Linked DNA regions of Homo sapiens: region 2 is linked to region 1. The links are contacts of gene promoters, found by promoter capture Hi-C in blood cells and fetal thymus (Javierre and others, 2016). All regions are on one chromosome and are shown on one strand. The core of a region is centred on a gene start or on the middle of the fragment in contact, and the rest is flanking DNA. Distances in the headings are between cores, read along the strand shown.

What was found. The method cuts DNA at HindIII sites, captures the fragments that hold promoters and counts their contacts. A CHiCAGO score of 5 or more calls a contact.
Region 2: a contact is called between a fragment that was not itself captured here and the fragment with the promoter of SLIT3-AS2 in region 1, in 4 of 17 cell types (M1 macrophages, M0 macrophages, M2 macrophages and 1 more). The highest score is 7.8, in M1 macrophages.

What each region holds. Positions count from the first base shown.
Region 1 is chr5:168,705,479-168,712,178 of GRCh38, reverse strand. SLIT3-AS2 (SLIT3 antisense RNA 2) reads right to left here and starts at 5,252. Exons shown (of 7, transcript NR_130737.1): 1 at 4,912-5,252; 2 at 3,532-3,742; 3 at 1,979-2,124. SLIT3 (slit guidance ligand 3) reads left to right here. Exons shown (of 36, transcript NM_003062.4): 25 at 1,121-1,284; 26 at 4,079-4,203. RefSeq lists an enhancer at 1-67. The HindIII fragment of the contact is 12,206 bases long and covers 5,018-6,700 here.
Region 2 is chr5:169,283,914-169,290,908 of GRCh38, reverse strand. The region is part of intron 1 of SLIT3 (slit guidance ligand 3); the gene reads left to right. Among named protein-coding and RNA genes, the nearest start is that of SLIT3, 14 kb to the left of the region's middle. The HindIII fragment of the contact is 1,890 bases long and covers 1,989-3,878 here.

The DNA of each region.
Region 1 (6,700 bases), core at 4,003-6,502:
ATGCATACAGTATATTATACAACTATGTATCCACACTATGCATATTGTCTTGTTTCCCACCTCAGAAGCCTTCAAAGGAATCCTCAATTATGTAAACACTGTAAATATTTAATAAGAACTAATAGAAAACATGTACTATGGGGTAAACACTTTAGATAAGTTTTCTATTTATTTCTTACAACTGTAAGGCATTTTTATCCTTTTATTATATATAATAACATTGTGTCTAAGCATGGCACAGCTAGCAGATGGCAGGGCCCAGGATCAGATCTAGGTTTGCCTTGACTCCAAAGCACATATTCTTAACCACTTTGCACTCTGCAACAGGTATTCCCTTCTTATTTTACACAGGAAAAACTGAGGCCCATAAATATTAGGTGACTAGCTAAAGTTTGACTATCAGGTCAGTGAGATGTTGGACTAGAATCTAGATTCCCTCACTCCCAGGCCAGACCTCTCTTCCACAGATCAGGAATCTCTACATTTTTTTATACACCTCTGTCAGTGAACATTTTCGAGTTTGTATTCCTTCTATATGCATATTTAATTATTTTCATAATGTGTGCATACACTATAATACGGATATACTACGTATGCATATTCTAAAACTTTCAAAAGTAGAATTGTTAAAGGATATAATTTAAAAAAAAAAACAGAATTTCTAGTATTTTCGTCCCAGTCACAACTGGGATGAAAGTCTAGCCAAGTGGTTTGAAGCTGCTCCCTAGGTTGCTGGGTTTCAGAACCTTCTCTGCAGAGTATATCCTCCAGTGGACCCTTCAACAGGGCAAGGGAACCAGATAATCAGATGGCCAGTGATCCAGGAAGCTCCCTAAAGGAGCTAGGATGGGGTTGAGTTGAAGAGTGAGTCTTACTTGCGTAGGTGAGAGCCACGCCTCAGAAGTGGAAGGGGCTGGGATGGGAGTTGAAACTTCCACAGGATTGGAAGTACACTCTGGAGATATTAACTTTGCCACAGTGGAGACGACTACTCCGCTGGCCCCATATTGGATACCTCCAGTCTAGCCAAAGTCTGAAAATGCATTTCCAGAGAGCCAAGGATATGAAGGCTACTGGCCAAGCTGGGCAGGGGGCCCTGACTTCCTGTTCTGCCTCCTAGGGCGCTGGGAACCAACCCACTCCACTGTGACTGCAGTCTTCGGTGGCTGTCGGAGTGGGTGAAGGCGGGGTACAAGGAGCCTGGCATCGCCCGCTGCAGTAGCCCTGAGCCCATGGCTGACAGGCTCCTGCTCACCACCCCAACCCACCGCTTCCAGTGCAAAGGTAGGTGACGCCCACACCCCACCCTCCCCTGCCCCTCTTGGGGTCTGCTGTGTTCCCAGCAACCTGTCAGAGCAGGGTATCTCAACAGATGTGGCTTCAGAAACCTTCACCCTGTCTCTTCCATGGGTCCCACAAAGAGGCTCAGATGCTGACGCTGATGTGAACCCTCATCTAATGGGCCAAGTGTCATTCTCTCCAAGTTCCCTGCTGGCATTGCCACACATCTCCTCACTGACTTCTTTCTGTACATGTCTTTCCATAGTGGAGAATATCTTTTTTTTTTTTTCATCTTTTGTAGAGACAAGGTCTCACTATGTTGCACAGGCTGGTCTCAAACTCCTGATCTCCAACGATCCTCCTGTTTTGGCCCCCCAAAATGCTGGGATTACAGGCATAAGCCACTGCACCTGGCCTTGAGAAAAATCTTCAACCTGCATTTTTTAATCCAACATTATTAAAACATAAGCATTTTCCCATTTTATCCAGCAAACTTTTGTACATGTGATTTTTTTATTGATCATATTATAACAACAAACTACTACTGAGTTTGTATGCAACAGGAATGATGGTAAGCACTGTCTCATGTATTTTCTTCTCATTCTTCATGTAACAACTTATTTAATTCTCTAATACCTCTATGTGATCAACTTTTAATATTATCCTCATTTTTAAAAATGAGAAAATTGAGGCTTACCAGGCTTCCAGGTCCATCTGATTCCAGAATGCGCAGTCTTTATCACCAAGCCATAATACTCCACTGCCACTTAATCCATTTCTGGTTTTGAATCTTTCGAGTATTTCCATTTTTTTGTCTTACCATTGACACATAAAGATCTTTCTCTGTTTGAAATCATGTCCTCAGATAAGACTCAGAGAATAGAAATTACTGAATCAAAGTACATTATTATTTTTAAGGTCTTCACACATTTTGCCAAATTGATTTTCAAAAAGGGTTATAACCAATTTACATTCCCAGTAGCATCCTTTGGTTGCATTTTTCATTAGACTCTCATTATTTTCTCTTATTTTCTCATTGCTAATTCAATAGGTTAAAAAAAAAAAACTCCTTTTATTTTGTCTTTGATTATTGGGGAACCTGAATTTTTCATCAAAAACGTACTTTTCATTTGTATACACAGTTGTTTGATAATCTCTTTTGCTCATCTCTGAGAGGCTTAATACTTATTTTGATATATAGATACACTTTAATTACCCTCTCAAACTTTAGTGTGTCCTACACTTCTGCTGCAAGCAGAAAAACATTCCATTGGCTTAAAGCTAATTTTAATTTTCCTCCTCCTGCTTCTAAGCTATCTGATCTGATACTAAAGAGGCTCACCTAGGCCAAGAACAGTATAGGTCTCAATCTTGGCTGCACATTTGGACATCATACAGGAGCTTTTAAAATTACTGAAGCCTGGCTCCACCCTCTAGGTTTAGATTAAATTGGTCTGGGGTACAACCTGGGTGTGGGGACTTTTAAAAGCACTGCAGCCAGGGTCCGGGCACGGTGGCTCATGCCTCTAATCCCAGTACTTTGGGAGGCTGAGGCGGGCAGATCACTTGAGGTCAGGAGTTCAAGACCAGTCTGCCCAACAAGGGGAAACCCCATCTCTACTAAAAATACAAAAATTAGCCAGGTGTGGTGGCGCATGCTTGTAATCCCAGCTACTTGGGAGGCTGAGGCAGAACTGCTTGAATCCAGGAGGTGGAGGTTGCTGTGAGCCGAAATTGCACCACCACACTCCAGCCTGGGCAACAGAGTGAGACTCCATCTCAAAAAAAAAAAAAAACAAACAGAAAACAACACTGTAGCTGGTAGTGTAAGGCAGCTAAGTCATCTGGGTTTTGTCTGGGCCATTCTTGGTTTTAGCACTGAAAGCTCTGTGTCCTGCAAACCCCCTCAGCCCCAAGCAAACCAAGACAGATAGTCTTCCTCTTCTAATGTGAAGTCGGGTTGAGCCCCTGGTACCAGCTCTCAATCAGGCCATTCTTTTTACTCATCCACAAACAGTCACTCACTGAAGTTCATCTCAGCCCATCTCCAAGTTGATAACTGTTAACCCCAAGGTCATTTATAGTCCTGACACTAAATATGGCCTGTTTATCCAGGGCTCATTGTCAAAGCTGGCTGCAGCAGCAGGACACAGCCCCCTTTGCAAAGCTCTGGGAAGGACCCTGACCTCCCTCCAGTGCTCGCAGCTAAAGCAAGCACACGGCTGAAACGGTCACAGACGTAACATGTACCTGAGCAGTTTTCTGTCCATTGTCAGCATCATCGCTGTGTCCTCTGGGGCCATCCATTTCTTTCTTCCAAGGTTTTCCAGGGGGGACTTCCTCTGTGTGCCTTTGGCCCAAGCACTGTGCCCTGCTTAGCCTGGCACAGACTATTCCATGGGGAGGGGTGTTTGTGGGTAGAAAAATGGGAGGTCCGAATGGAGCCTGGGCCCAGAGCTTCCTGGAATATGAAAAGATACACAGGGGGTTTCTAATTATGGTGCATTGTTTGCAGATTAGCACCAAAATCGGATCAGGCTAATTACAGTAATTGATTTGACTGCAGAAGTGTTTCTGAATGATGTCCCACTGTGATTTTTCCTCACTGGACAGTGGCTGAATTAATGGGACTCTAGCTGGACTGGATGTGCTGGCTGAGGAGAGCCAGCTGCCATCTGGGCATGGAGTTGGGAAGGGGCTGGCGCTGGCTGAGGGAGGGCCCAGAGCAGAGGGGAAGGGAGGTATGGCAGTGAGCGCACTCAGGACCTGCCATCAGTACTCTGGTTTTGCTGCCCAGGGCCAGTGGACATCAACATTGTGGCCAAATGCAATGCCTGCCTCTCCAGCCCGTGCAAGAATAACGGGACATGCACCCAGGACCCTGTGGAGCTGTACCGCTGTGCCTGCCCCTACAGCTACAAGGTATGCTGGAGGCCCTGCCCCCCCGTGTTCATGCCTCAGGCTCCTCCTTCAGCCCTGGCCCTAGAGAGGGGCACCATGCCCTGCGTACCCTCCCTTCTCCAAGGGACAGCCTGGATGAGTCCATCGCACAGGTCACCACTCCAAAGCAGCATTTGCCAGTAACACTGTTCTCTGAACTAGCGGGAGCTGCCAGTCAGAGAGGCCCCCATATGGTCTTGACAAGGATGTCCAGAGAGAAAGAGGAAATGTAACATTTGTATTTTCTTTGTGAAACATGGAGAAATTAAGTCTCAGAGAAAAAGTGTTTCCAAGTAGAGGCATCCCTTGAGCCCACTCTCCCAATTTCCCTTCTAAAGGGATTTCCAGAACCTCCACCCCACCATGCCCCTGCCAAACCCCACCCTCAGAGCAACCAGCCTTGAAAGTGCTGGTTCCAGCTTGATGTAAATATAGGGATTGGGGATTGAAAGGCCTAGGGGCTGCAAACTCACCCAAAAGGTTGATCGGCTAAGATCAGCCAGCAAGAGGATGAGATCCCAGTTCTCCCCTCTGTCCTCCCAGACTACCTCCAAGACAGTCCTTCCTTCTTTCACCCAGAGCACGGTGTCATGCCCCTCTGCTGACCCCTGTGGATATCGACCATGTGCCTCTCACCAGCACCTACCGAGTACAGACTGTGCCAAGTACTGTGCTTGGCATTTTACTCACCTGTTCAAACACCCCCAGCAAACCTAAGAAGGCCTCATTATTCCCTTTTTACGGATATGGAGACTGGGCCTCAGACTGTCAAGAGTTCAACTCAATGTCCGAAGCTTGTAAGCAGTAGAGCTGTGATTAAGACCCTGGGCTTTGTGATTCCAGAACCCAATCCTTTTCCCCTGGAGGGTTTCCTGGATAGCTGAGCCCTTCCTTGGGCTTCACTGGAATCAGCAAAGCTGTGGCTCCATCCTCTTCTGCAGGGCCCGCCCAGCTTCCAGCCTTCCCAGGGCACCCATCCAAAGGCACTGGGCAAGCGCAGAGTTTCAGGACAGCCCCACAGCCTGTCTAATGCACACATCTGATGCAGGTGGAGTGAGAGTGAGCTGGCATCCCCAGGTCTCTGCCCCCAGTGGGATTGTGTGTGCGTAGTGACAGGCTTAGAGGCAGCCTCATTCTGGGGAATGGGACTACCTGATGTATTTCTAGACGATGGCTGTGCTTCTAGCAGATGGTGTCAGAGTGCCACCTATGGGCCTGGGACAAGAGAGCCAAAGGATTCCCTTTGAAGCCAGCCACCTCCAAAGTCTTAAACTTACCACTGAGTCCCAGACCCATACACCGTCATTTCATAAGCTGATTATAAAAATCAGAGAAGAGACTAAATGCATAAGGTCCAGATGAGTGCCTGGCCTTTACTGATGATTCAAAAGAGAACTATACTATGTATGGAATTGAGAATGTTATAAATTCAGTCACAGGGCACCCACACACACAAAAAAAATAATAGGAGGGGAGAATAGAGATTAACAGCAGACATACTCAGGATGTGTGGATCCTCTCAAACTCCCTTGTATGGATTCAGCAGAGAAAATTCAGACTGTGCAATTACACAGAGAAGCAGGTGTGGATTCCAGCTTTGTCATTTACTAGCTGTGTAGCCATTGCTAGTAATTTCATCTGTCTTCCCAGCTGCAAACTAGGACCTGTCTCATAGGTTTGCCGTAAGAATCAAATGTACAGTAATGTACGCAATACACTAGGATGATACCTGGCATTCAGTGAGCACTCAATAAGCTGGCATACTGCTGCCTTTCACCTTTACCCTTGCATGGTGGTCCCTCATACCTGGGTGTGGAATAGGCCATCAGTAACAGGTGGTATGTTGCTAGTTTGATCCAGGATTATCAGTCTATGGCACTGTGAACTGCCAAGAAACTTCAGTCATTCTCCTAGAACTGTGACTGCATTTGTAACATTCTCAATTCCATACATAGTATAGTTCTCTTTTGAATCATCAATAAAGGCCAGGCACTCATCTGGAGCTTATGCATTTATTTTCTTCTCTGATTTTTATAATCAGCTTATGAGATGGGTAGTATCATCCCCATTCTAAAGATAAGGTAAACTGTTTCACATTCTGATTCTTGCTTCCTTCTCTTTAAAACTGGCCTGAGTCTGAAAGTAGTAGAGCTGGGTTTGAAGTCCAGGCTTCTTCCAGCTACACTTGACTGTACTATGAAGCATGACCTGACCGTCAGTGTCAGAGCAAAGAGAGTATCTTCAGAGCTACTGCAGGATAAGGCCACTTGTTTGAACTTTGTTCTCAAGATTCTGAACATCATGTCAATTTTAGAAGAATGTGAACAGAGATTTTGATCTTGAGGAAAGTGTTGAGCCCAGGCAGGTCTAGGGTGCATGATGTTGATGGTGATGGTGAAGATGATGATGGTGAAGGTGATGATGGTGATGGTATCGGTGATGATGACAAAGGTGACAATGGTGATGGTGTTGATGATGG
Region 2 (6,995 bases), core at 1,684-4,183, 580 kb before region 1:
TGCCCTAGCACGTGCCCTAGTGTATTCCCTAGTGTACACCCTAGCGTATGCCCTAGCATGTGCCCTAGCGTGTGCCCTAGTGGGTGCCATAGCATGTGCCCCAGTGTATGCCCTAGCGTGTGCCCTAGTGGTTGCCATAGCATGTGCCCCAGTGTATGCCCTAGTGTGTGCCTTAGCGTGTGCCCTAGCATATGCCCTAGTGCGTGCCCTAGTGCGTGCCCCAGCATGTGCCCTAGCGTATGCCCTAGTGCGTGCCCTAGCATTTGCCCTAGCATATGCCCCGCACGTGCCCTAGTATATGCCCTAGTGTATGTCCTAGCATGTGCCCTAGTGCGCACCCTAGTGTGTGCCCTAGCGTATGCCCTAGTATGCGCCCTAGTATATGCCCTAGCGCATGCACTAGTGCGTGCCCTAGTATGTACCCCAGTGTATGTCCTAGCGTGTGCCCTAGCATGTGCCCTAGTGCGCAACCTAGTGTGTGCCCCAGTGTATGCCCTAGTGTGTGCCCTAGTATATGCCCTAGCGTGTGCCCTAGCACATGTACTAGTGCGTGCCCTAGCATATGCCCCAGTGTATGCCCTAGCGTGTGCCTTAGCATGTGCCCTGGTGCGCGCCCTAGCGTGTGCCCTAGCATATGCCCTAATATGTGTCCCAGCATGTGCCCTAGCATGTGCCCTAGTGCGCACCCTAGCGTGTGCCCTAGCATATGTCCTAGTGCACACCCTAGCATATGCCCTAGCATGTGCCCTAGCATATTTCCTAGTGTGTGCCCTGGCGTATGCCCTAGTGCATCCCCGAGTGTGTGCCCTGGCGTATGCCCTAGTGTACGTTCTAGCATATGTCCTAGTGTGTGCCCTGGCGTATGCCCTAATGTACGTTCTAGCATATTCCCTAGTGTGTGCCCTAGTGTATGCCCTAGTGTGTGCCCTAGCATATTCCCTAGTGTGTGCCTTAGCGTATGCCCTGGTGTATGTTCTAGCATATGCCCTAGTATGTGCCCTAGCATATGCCCTAGTGTGTGCCCTAGTGAATGCCCTAACTCAGGTATGTCTGCATGCTGTGGAGTCCATGATCCTCTTCTAATCGGAGTTTTATGACTTGACCATAGAATTGTGCATGTTTGCATCTCTCCCTGAGCTTTAGCTACTCCTGGCTCCTGCCTTAATCCTTCTAGCTTGGCTTCTTGCCCTCTACTGCCCTCTATGTATTCTCCATAGCCTTAGTATTGAATTTGGACTGTCACCATCAGAACCCCAGGTCCTGAAATTGGATTTCATGGCCTGGACCTTCACTGGAGACTGCAGACTTGCAAGAACTCAGAGTTCTGCCCTGGAAACAACCTCAGACTTCGTCTTTATGGCCATCTGAAATCTTTTATCATGTCCAGGGTAGCATGTAAAAGTGCCCCAGGGCTGGACTCTATAAATGATGAATTACTTAGACATACTCCTGAACTCCCTGTATCCCAAATAGGACAGATCATTTTGTAATTAAAAAGCGCAGCAGTGATGATCTCATTGGAGAGCTGTCCTGTTCAATAATGTGTTGCAGAAATTTCTGGACTATCTAGTACTTTGCTGACATTCTTTCTCTCCTCTTCTTCTCTCTCCAGCTCTAGAATGTAGGTAGAAAGTGTTCTGAGTATGGGGATTCTAAGTGGAATTAGTGAGAAGCCAAGGGGGAGTACAATTTGGATGTAAGCCGAAATGAGTAGAAAGACCTAGGCTGAATCCTGGCTTCTGTCACTTTCTAACTGCCCGACCTGTCTGAGTACCTTTGCGGTCTCCATAGTCTCATCTATAACCTTTGGAATGGGAGAAATAACACTCATCTCAGGGGGCTGATGCAAGGTTTAAATGAGATCAGATGTCTCCAAATGCCTTCTAAATTTAGTGCTATGCGAATACCTTAATGAGTCCACCCACAATATCTGAATTGAACCACTAAATCCTGTATCTGGAAGACGATCAGGGTATATTTTAGAAGCTTTCATTTACAGATGAAGAAACTCAGGGAGCTCCAAAGCCTTGCTCAGAGTCACCCATGTCTTCAAACTCTTGTTCCAGTTTCCTTTTCATTTAACAAGATGCATCTTTTACAAATTAAAATATAACCTCATACCAGCCATGTCAGCAGCTTAACCAGGTGGAGTTTAGAGGACTGGGTAATTAATAAGTGACAGTGTCCAAGACAGTAGGACCAAATAAGGGAATCCATGAAGGATGGAGTCATTTAAAGGGGCCATTTATTGAGTGTCTACCACAATGAATAAAGCAAGTGAAATGTTCTGGTAACTAGAACAGTTCAAACTAACTTCAAAGTTAGTCTGGACTGTCTCTCCCTCTAAATGACTGACAAGGCAAAGGCTACCATGCTAGGTTCAGAGCAGGGAGATTTATGGGTTGGGAGAAATGCTAGAACCATGAAGGATGTAGCACCAAACCCTCAGGAATCATTGATGAAAGCAAGCCCCCTCATCCCTTTTAGTGGGTACAAATATGTAGAAAGCCTCCCACATCATAAAAAAATAGTACAAGTGGAATTAAAAAAAAACTCAAGGGGGAAATATTAATCTGAGAACAATTGTATCTGAGAAAGCATTCAAGTATGCCTCTGCAGCTAGCTGGCAAACAGCACAAGTTCTGCATTTTATTAGAGTTCTAACTCTGTGTAGAACACTGACCTTATTTGAGAAGCATTTCATAAACACTGACACACAGCACAGCAGCATTTGAGGCCATGAGGAGATACAGGGCCTTCTTTAGGGGGCCAGCTTCCCTTCCCCTCCTCGGCTGCAAGGGACCCCTAGGACATTGTTTCCCTGAGTGGTAATATCTTTATTTTTCTCTCTTAGGTTTAACTCAGCAGGAGGAATTTTCCTAGGGGAAAATGAGGGAGGGGGATTTGGAATAAAATTTGTACTTTGGGCAAGTTTGCCTAAGCATGGGGTAGGCGATGGGGAAGACCCTGCTCTGGGAGAAAGGGTCTAAGAACCTTCACTTGGCCAGTGGAGTTTCTTTTTGGAGATCTCACCTGGTGCCTGGAGACCTATGCTGTGGCTGTGTCAGAGGCAGGTTCTCAGGCAGCATTCACCAGGTCCTTTGGAATGCAAGACTTGTGGCTTGCAACCGCCCTGAGAAACGCGTCCACCACATCCCCTCCTGCTAGAAGCTGGCACCTCCCTTTCCATCTGCTGCCAGCGTACAAGTTCTGAATTTGTGCCACAGAACTTGGTTCTGTTCCTCCCCCTCTTGTTGGCTTCCCTAGCCAAGAGATTTTCAGGCTTTTGAGGTATCACTGGAGATCATCTGGTCTACTCCCTCCCCACTGATCTCAACCCATCTCCAAAGGGAAATGCATTAGAAAGGTCACCAGAGAGGACCTCAGCTTCCTGGTGTGGTCTGCCCTTATGAAAAGGTGCCTTCATTTCTGCCTCATCCTGTGCAAAGATCATGCAGAGCCATGGGAAGCCTCTGCCAATCTGGGAAGCTAGGGAGACAGAAGAGGGACCACATCTAGTACAAAAAAAAATAGGGAATCATGTGGAAGCAGAGGGGAGAGGCACCAGATGGGTGACTCGGGATGGCAGATCATATCCTGAGGGCTCTCAGCACCAAGCCTGCAGCTTATTTCGAGTCTAGAGAGGGAAGATCCCAGCTGAAGAAAACGGCAAGGGAAGGAACACTGGGAACCAGGACTGGAGCAGGAATCCAAAAATGGGAAGGCCAGTTGCTTCATGGGAGCTTTTAATGACTCTAGTTCCCTACCAACACCCCTCCCCTTCTAATTGCTTCATAGCACAAGATGGTAACCAATCTGCTCTGTTTACTCTGTTTAGGCATACATTTTAGTACTTTCTGAAACATTTCCCATAAGCTTCCCCCTGCCGTGTGCCCTCCTTGTACATTCTAGAAATTTTGCAAAGACCTAAGTCTCCTCTGGGTTCTTTCCTGACTGGAGCTGCATGCTGATTCAAGCCATATTCAGTCAGGAAGCTCTCTTCCCGTCTTTAAAACAAGAAACATCTTCTTCCAAGAAGACTGCACTACAGTTTTCTTTGTCTGTGTTGCTAACGAACAAAGAGGCCCCATTGCAAAACAGCATTTCACGAGCAGAGCAGGGCTGATAGCACCTCTTGCCAAATGTGACTGTGTGTAGTTGTGTGGGGGGAAAATAGCTTTGTCGAGAGGAGGGCCGAGGGAGGCGGCTCTGGGGAATTTTTAGCAACTGCAGCATGGTGTAGTGGAAAGAATGCTTGCCTGGGAATTTGGCGACCTGGCCGTACCTCTGACACACCATGTGACCTTGGACAAGTCATTTGACCTCCCTGGGCCTCAGTTTCCTGATCTTTAAAGGGGATGAGGGAAGTAGACTGGATGATCTCCAAGGATCCTTTCAGCCCTATGCATCCTCACTTCTGGGGGCTGGGATTTGGGGTTTAGACCTGAGCCAATATCCAATTCAAGAGACTTTCTAGAGGCAAGAGAGAGGCCAGGACAGCTGCTTCGGGAAGTGGCTGGTCCTTGATTAAGGCTCAAATAATTAGCTCAGCTCCACAGTAAGCCTTCTGAAATTAAGAAAAAAAAAGATGTTTAGTTTAAAAAAATAGCAGTCGGTGTTTCTTAAAACTGATTGGCTTGGGGCTTTGTAGGTTTTATTCAGAGACATAATTTTGCTTCCTCTATAGTACAGCAGTTTAGATTATTGATGCTTTGATGCTGGAGTTAGTGTGACCTGGTTTTGAATGCCATTAGTAGCTAAGTAATCTTAGGCATGGTCTTTAATAGTAACCTGCTTCCCTGGCTTACTAGGAAGATCAAATGAGGTAATACATGTCAAGCTTAGAGGACAGTGTCTGGCATTAAATAATCACTCCAAAAGCCATTATTATGGCTATATTTTGCTGCTTAACAATCCACCCCAAAACTTAGTGTTCTAAAGTGACAACCATTTTATCATGCTCAATGATTCTCTACGTCGTAGTGCAGTAGAGATGGCTTATTTCTGCTCCATACAGTCTGAGGCATCATCTGCAGAGTCTGGAATGACCAGGAGAGACTTGAATACCTGGGTGCTAGAATCCCCAGCAGGCTGTTCACTCACATGTCTGGCACCTAGGCTGGGATGACTTGAAGTCTGGGCTCAGCTGGGACTGTTGAGCAGGGTGTCTACACATGTGACCTCTATGTGGCTTGAGCTTCCTCACAACATGGTGGCCTCTGAGTAGTCTAACTTCTCACATGGTTGCTCCACACTCTGAGAAGAGGTGTGCAGCAACTCAGAACAACTCAGAAGTAGCATGGCTTTTTATGAATGGACTTAAAAGCAACATAGTACCCCTTCTGCTCTGCTCTGTGGCTCTGAACAGTACAAGCTTGCCCACATGCAAGGGTAGGGGTCATCTCTCCATGTAAGAAGTCTCAGAAGTTGCAGCTGTGTTTTAAAACCTCCACAGCTATATAGTTATGATCATCATTTTTCTGTACCATATAATCTAATCTCTTAAGTAGACAAAAAGTTCCTTGAGGACAGGAGCTGGCATTTCTCTATAGAAGCTTAGTACAATGCTTGTGAAAATAAGACAAAATCAACATATTTTCAAAAATCAAATTGAATTGGATAGGCAGCAGATTTGGTGGAAAGACCAGGAGCTTAGCGCCAAGGAGATCTGGATTCAAAAATCTGTATTCAGGCCCAGGTGCAGTGGCTCACACCTGTAATCCCAGCACTTTGGGAGGCTGAGGTGGGAGGATCAGTTGAGCCTATGAGTTTGACACCTACCTGAGCTACATAGTGAGACCCCATCTGTACAAAATATAAAGATAACAAAATTAGCTTGGCATGGTGGTACACAACTGTGGTGCTAGCTACTCAGGAGGCTGAGGTGGGAAGGATAACTTGAGCCCAGGAGGTCAATCTGCAGTGAGCCATGATTGCACCACTGCACTCTATCCTGGGTGACAGAGTGTGACCCTGTCTCCAAGAAAAAAAAAATCTGTGTTCAAAATGTGCCCTTTGAAAAATTACTTGTCTTTCTCATAAAAAAAAGACATAAAGACAATAATACTTATCTCAAGGATTGTTGTAAGAACTAAGGATAGTAAATGCAAAATGCCTAACACACATTCAATGCTCTAACTAAATTACAGATATTGTGAGGTAGTGTAGCATTGTGGCAAGCACCTGGATACTCCACTCAGACAAACCTGGTTTCAAATTCCATCACTTCTCATTGTGTGAATGTAGATAAGTCCCTTCATCTCTTTGGGTCTCAGGATCCTCATCTGTAAAATGGGTACTATAGTAACTGTCTTGTAGGGTTATTGTGAAGATGAGGAATGCTTCTGTCTCAGACCCTGACACATAGTAGGGACTTAAAATGGTACCTATATTAGCCACAGTTAACAATTTGTGTTCTTTTGTTTGTATATTGATTTGTCCATGAATTTATGCACTGAACAATGACTCATGCAATGCTAATAACTCACAATGGCTTCATTTTTCAAGTTTCTGCATGGTAGTGTCTGCTGATGCCTAGATCTGGGAAGATACCCTCATGGGATAGAGAACTAGCCCTTTGGAAAGGAGCTCAGGGTCCCAGGTAAGCTGCCCGGGACAGTACACTATTTTGACACATCCACAGCTGAGTTTTAATTGTCCCTGTTGGCTTTTGACCCTAGAGATCCCCTGGCTTCCTCCAGTTATAATCGTTTTGCTCAGAGGTTCACATTTTCTTTCCTCACCGGATAGATCCTGTCCCTTGCTGCTGTGCAGCCGTGGGCAAACATGTTAGCTCTTACCTTGTGTCTGTTTTTTGTCAGTGCCTTTTTTTTACAGCATTGTTTTATTGGCTGAAATTCAGCAAACTATACCAGCCTTGTCTTTGTGGTGTCAAGCCAGGTCACGGGGGTTCACTTTCCCGGGTAGTTCCTGGGACCTGAAGCTCTCTTAGGAACCATTGACTACGAGCTTCTCCTTTTCTTCCCTAAGACCTC